Regions from separate parts of the Homo sapiens genome. Here region 1 is linked to region 2. Evidence: promoter capture Hi-C in human tissues and cell types (Jung and others, 2019). All regions are on one chromosome and are shown on one strand. Each heading gives the region's core, a stretch centred on a gene start or on the middle of the fragment in contact. The rest is flanking DNA. Distances are from core to core; before and after follow the strand shown.

The links. Contacts are between HindIII fragments. The study calls those that stand out against the background at their distance.
Region 1: a contact is called between a fragment that was not itself captured here and the fragment with the promoter of RPRD2 in region 2, in 1 of the 25 tissues and cell types used here (small bowel).

Annotation. Positions count from the first base shown.
Region 1 is chr1:150,901,923-150,904,622 of GRCh38, forward strand. The region is part of intron 1 of CTXND2 (cortexin domain containing 2); the gene reads left to right. The region is part of intron 2 of LOC107985204 (a long non-coding RNA gene); the gene reads right to left. It also overlaps the pseudogene CYCSP51. Among named protein-coding and RNA genes, the nearest start is that of CTXND2, 16 kb to the left of the region's middle. The HindIII fragment of the contact is 5,221 bases long and covers 1-2,700 here.
Region 2 is chr1:150,362,807-150,365,576 of GRCh38, forward strand. It overlaps RPRD2 (regulation of nuclear pre-mRNA domain containing 2), which reads left to right and starts at 1,341. Exons shown (of 11, transcript NM_015203.5): 1 at 1,341-2,113. The coding sequence starts at 1,909. RefSeq lists enhancers at 1-578, 559-628, 789-1,098, 1,849-2,128, 2,612-2,770. The HindIII fragment of the contact is 19,991 bases long and covers 1-2,770 here.

The DNA.
Region 1 (2,700 bases), core at 100-2,599, 540 kb after region 2:
CTAAAAAAAAAAAAATAAATTCAATGGGGAAATAATAGTCTTTTTAATAAATAATGCTAGAGGCTGAGCACAGTGGCTCACTCCTGTAATCCCAGGACTTTGGGAGGCCGAGGCAGGCGGATTACCTGAGATCAGGAGTTCAAGATTAGCCTGGCCAACATGGTGAAACTCCGTCTCTACTAAAAATACAAAAATTTGGCTGGGCGCCGTGGCTCACGCCTGTAATCCCAGCACTTTGGGGGGCAGAGGCGGGCAGATCACAAGGTCAGGATATTGAGACCATCCTGGATAACACAGTGAAACCCCGTCTCTACTAAAAATATTTTTAAAAAACATTAGCCAGGCGTGGTGGTGGGTGCCTGTAGTCCCAGCTACTCGGGAGGCTGAAGCAGGAGAATGGCATGAACCCGGGAGGCGGAGCTTGCAGTGAGCTGAGATTGGGCCACTGCACTCAAGCCTGGGCAACAGAGAGAGACTGCCTCAAAAAAAAAAAAAAATTGCTGGGCATGGTGGCACACGCCTGTAATCTCAGCTACTTGGGAGGCTAAGGCAGGAGAATTGCTTGAGCCCAGGAGACAGAGGTTGCAGTAAACCAAGATCGTGCCACTGCATTCCAGCCTGGCCGACGGAAATGAATGAGATTCATCACCTATAGGAGGTAGGTAGGAATGGGTGGCAAGGATGAGATGTGGGTGAAATGGAATGGAAAGAATGGTCGGGGAGGGGTGATACTTCTTTGAGTGTAATTTTTGTATAGTTCTGGTAACTATGTTACTATTTCACATACTCAAAAAATAAATGCAATAATAGTAGGGGAAAAAACTCTTAAAGTGGAATATAAACAAGACAAAATGACAAAAAAGCAGACCACTATGTCCCATAAACTGCAGGGAACATATATCAAGCTTGAAGGGAAAGTAGTCACCTTTGGTATTTTCCCTCTGTACACCTTTCTCCTACAGAGTACAGAGGGAAAATACCAACATTCCAGCAACTTTCCCCAAGAAAACCTATTGCCTCTTTACTCTCAACCCTTTTTATCCCCTCAAGGTGAATACTGAACTAAATATTTCAAAAATTGTCTAGCTACTTGCTCTGCAATGCCTGGTTATCAGATCCCTCTTTGGAACATAGGGCTCCTGCTATCTATTGTTTTATTTTGGCCTAAATTTATAGCACAGCTGTAATTGAAACAGAAATAGTCTCCTTTTAATAACCTGATGCGTCTGTTCTGCCAATCCCTATGTTTTGTTTTGAAAATCTGATCATTCTGTAACAACAACATATTTTATTAAAAATCACCCTTCTGTTAAGTGATGGGGCTTTTTCTTCTCTTTTTATTGAGGGGTGGGGGTTGCGTATATAATTTTATTATAAGTACTTTTGTGCATGATTTGTCCCTCCCGCTTCCCACCCCTGCAGTCCTCTTAAGAGAGGCCAACAGCCTTTCCCTGCCTTGGATTCTGAAGTGTTCCTGTCTGTCTTAACCTAGCCCTGGCCAGACGTTCTCTTTGATTTTTAACTTTTTTTTAATTAAAAGATACCAGTATGAGATGAAAAAATAAAATAAAATTAAAAATAAAAATCACCCTTCTGGCCAGACATGGTGGCTCACGCCTGTAATCCCAGCACTTTGGGAGGCTGAGGCAGGTGGATCAGGAGGTCAGGAGTTCAAGACCAGCCTGGCCAACATAGTGACACCCCGTCGCTACTAAAAATACAAAAAATTTGCTGGAATGGTGGTGGGCGCCTGTAATCCCAGCTGCTCGGGAGGCTGAGGCAGGAGAATCGCTTGAACCTGGGAGGCAGAGGTTGCAGTGAGCAGAGATTGCGCCATTTTTGCCCTCCAGCCTGAGCGACAGTGTGAAACTCCGTCTCAAAAAAAAAAAAAAATTGCCTTTATGGAGAGAGTGGGATGTCCGGCTTCAGAGTGGTAACCTACGTTGCACCAGTGATGAAAAAGAGAATTAAATATGGGTGATGTTGAGAAAGGCAAGAAGATTTTTGTTCAGAAGTGTGCCCAGTGTCACACCGTGGAAAAGGGAGGCAAGCACAAGACTGGGCCTAATCTCCATGGTCTCTTCAGTCAGAAGACAGGTCAGGCTGTTGGATTCTCTTACACAGATGCCAATAAGAACAAAGGCATCATCTGGGGAGAGGATACGCTGATGGAGTATTTGGAAAATCCCAAGAAGTACATCCCTGGAACAAAAATGATCTTTGCCGGCATTAAAAAGAAGGCAGAAAAGGCCGACTTGACAGCTTATCTCAAAAAAGCTACTAATGAGTAATAATTGGCCACTGCCTTATTTATTACAAAACAAATGTCTCATGAATTTTTCATGTGTACCATACTTTAACAGAGCTTATACACCAGAATTCAGATCATGAATGACTGACAGAATATTTTGTCGGACAGTCCTGATTTAAAACTAAGACTGGCTTGTGGTTAAATGAATATGTTCAGTTTTTGAATTTTAATAGTAATTCCAATTCAGTAAATGCTATCACTGTTTACCCCTTCTAAAGATATGATTAGACTTTGTTAGTAATGTTAAACTTTTCACAAAGATGGTGAGTACCATCTTCAAACTTACTGGAGATTGGTTTTATATTTAGATTTATATAACTGGTTATGTGAATATATTTGAATACTGGAGAAATTCCTTCACTGTCTCAGAACCAAGCAAGATTCACCTG
Region 2 (2,770 bases), core at 91-2,590:
CTGCTGTGCGATATGATAGTGCCACTGCACTCTAGCCTTGGCAGGGACAGAGCGAGACTGTATTTTAGAGCCTTTGCACTTGCTGTTCCTAATGCCAGCATGTTCCGCTCCCCGTCTCGCATATCTGCTTGGTTGCTTTTTTCTCAATGTTCAGATCGAGTTATTTCTTTCGAGAAGACTTCCTGGTTCACCATACCACCATTCTTATACTGGCGCGTGCGTGCCGTGCACACGTACACACACGCGCGCACACACACACACCCCTTTCTCCCTTACCCTGCTTCACCTTTTTACAGAATTTAATACTGTCTGAAATGTACTTGTTGGTGGTGTCCTGCCACTAAATCCCGGAGGGAACGGATTTTTGTCTGTTTTGCTCCCCATGATCTAAAACAGTACTTGGCACAAGAGGTTCAACAACTCGTTGAATTAATGAATAGTGGACATGAACTTGACAAAACAGGTTCCCTGCCTCAAGAGGCATGGCCGCAGTGAGGAGACGTTAAAAGAATTAAAACTGTATATGTTTAGTGGGAACACAGGAGCCTTTAAATTAGCTCAGAGGATTTACATAGATACCTGCGATAAAATGGTTCGTATAAGGTTCATATAATAGTTACGTAAGACTCTTGAAAACTGTAATGTATTATGCAATTTTAAGATTGTATCATAGCTGGCGAAAATGAGGTCACATCTTGCCATTCTTTTTTCGCCTCGAAAAATTTTATGAGGAAAATTTCCTTTCACTTCCTCATTTATTTCCTTTTCCTGTAACCTAAATGGTCAAGCGGCTGTGAATGTTATCTTCTATGGGCAGCAATAAATACGGTTTGGTGTCGGAGTCTGCGTAGTGAATGGCTCACTGGATCTGGCGCATGCGCATCTTTTGTGGTGCCGCAAGATGGCTGCCAGCCATTTTGTCGCGCGTTGCTCCTCCGAGGAGTTGGGGGCGATGGCTGCAGCCCCCTGAAGACTAACAGTGGTCTCAGTGGTGGGAATTTTCTGTCTCTGTTGTGTGAGCTGAACACACCCAAGAGAGCGGCCAAAAGCAGCAAAGGGCGGGGCAGGGGAACCCCCCCACCCGGCTAACCTTAGTTATACCAGCTCCCTCACCCATCCCTCCCAGTTTTTCCTTCCATCCCGTTACACGCTTATCTTCTGCGCAGGCGCAAAAATAATCGTAGCGCCTCCTGGGCCCTGGGGGCTTCAGAGCTCCTGCGCGCGCTTGTGGTTCTCCACTCCTGATTGGTCAGGTTGCCCCGCCATCACGCCTCCCTCTGCTTTCAAGGTTGAGAAGGAAGCAGGGGTAGGGGGGTGGGGCCAAGTGGCGCGTGCGCGATACTGTTGCTGCCCCTTTGCTGCTATTGCGTTGCAAAAAAAATCCTGACTAGGTAGCCTTGGACCTTTTCTGTGCTAGCGAGTCTAAAGGAAAGAAAGATTTCTGCAACTGAAGGGGCAGTCGGGTAGTATTACATTTAAGATATTAACGCCCGACCTGGCTCACAGGAGTGTGGGAACAGGGGCGGGGAAGGGCCTTAGCACTGAGAGCCGAAAAGTATAAAACGATTAGTTTCGGCGTCAGGCGTTTTGAAAGGCTTTGCAGGTCCTGTTTTCTGCGTAATTTTTCCGTGATTACTGACTGGTTTAAACACGACCCCTTGAACAATATTGATAAAACCTCCGAGACCCGCAGCCCCTCCTTGCAGCGTGTAGGAGCTGCCAGCGTGCCCAGCAGCTGGTGTTCCCGTCCGTACCTCCAGAAGAGCCCAGCGCGTGCACCATCCCCACCCCCTAGCTTCCCTCCCCACCTACGGCTTTCACGCACTCGCAGTGATTGTTTTGCCCGCTCCCGCCGCCGCCGCCGCCGCCGCCGCCAGAGGAGCAGCAGCGCTTGTGCAAACCGGGAAGATGGCGGCCGGCGGCGGCGGAGGCAGCAGTAAGGCCTCCTCCTCGTCGGCCTCTTCGGCAGGGGCTCTGGAGTCCTCGTTGGATCGAAAATTCCAGTCGGTAACCAACACCATGGAGTCCATTCAAGGCTTGTCGTCTTGGTGTATAGAGAACAAAAAACACCACAGTACTATCGTCTATCATTGGATGAAGTGGCTCCGGAGATGTGAGTGTTGGGGGTGACTAGGGAAGGGAAGACTGGGGAAATGGAAGGAAGTGTGGCCTGAAACGCTTGGGGTTTTCCCACGGAGCCGCAGCATTTGGTTGGGGTTGTTCACATTAAAGGTTTGACCCCAGTGGTCCCAAACCCAGACTCCATTCCTAGCCAGGATTGTCCTGAATTGCAGGAGACTCATTTCTTGGGTTTTTTAGCCATTGAATTGTTGTGACCTTGGGCCGTTGGGCCCAGATCCATGGAGATTTACGTATATTGTTTTTAATATTTCAGAGCCTTGTAAGGTGTATTGATTTTTCCGAACCTTCGCGGAAATTGTAGCGTCTGTTTATTTCTTACAGGCCTTGACGTGTTAATGATTTCTGGCTTTCCTGATGGTAGGCGAGCTGTGGTTTTAAGCAGTAGTAAATCCAGTGATGTTTAATGAGGAGTGCCTTGTCTGGATGAATGTATCTAAAACTTGTGATGTGTAGTAAGGAGAGCCTTACCTGGATGAATGTTAAGAAGCAGCATGAGCTCTACATAGATCTGAGGCACCACCGGGTTTTCCCTGTACCTGTGTTTGCTGCAATAAAATACAGGTTTCTTGGATACTGACCAGAAACAACTGCGATACAGTAGTCAGTATCATCGTTAATACCTTCAAAT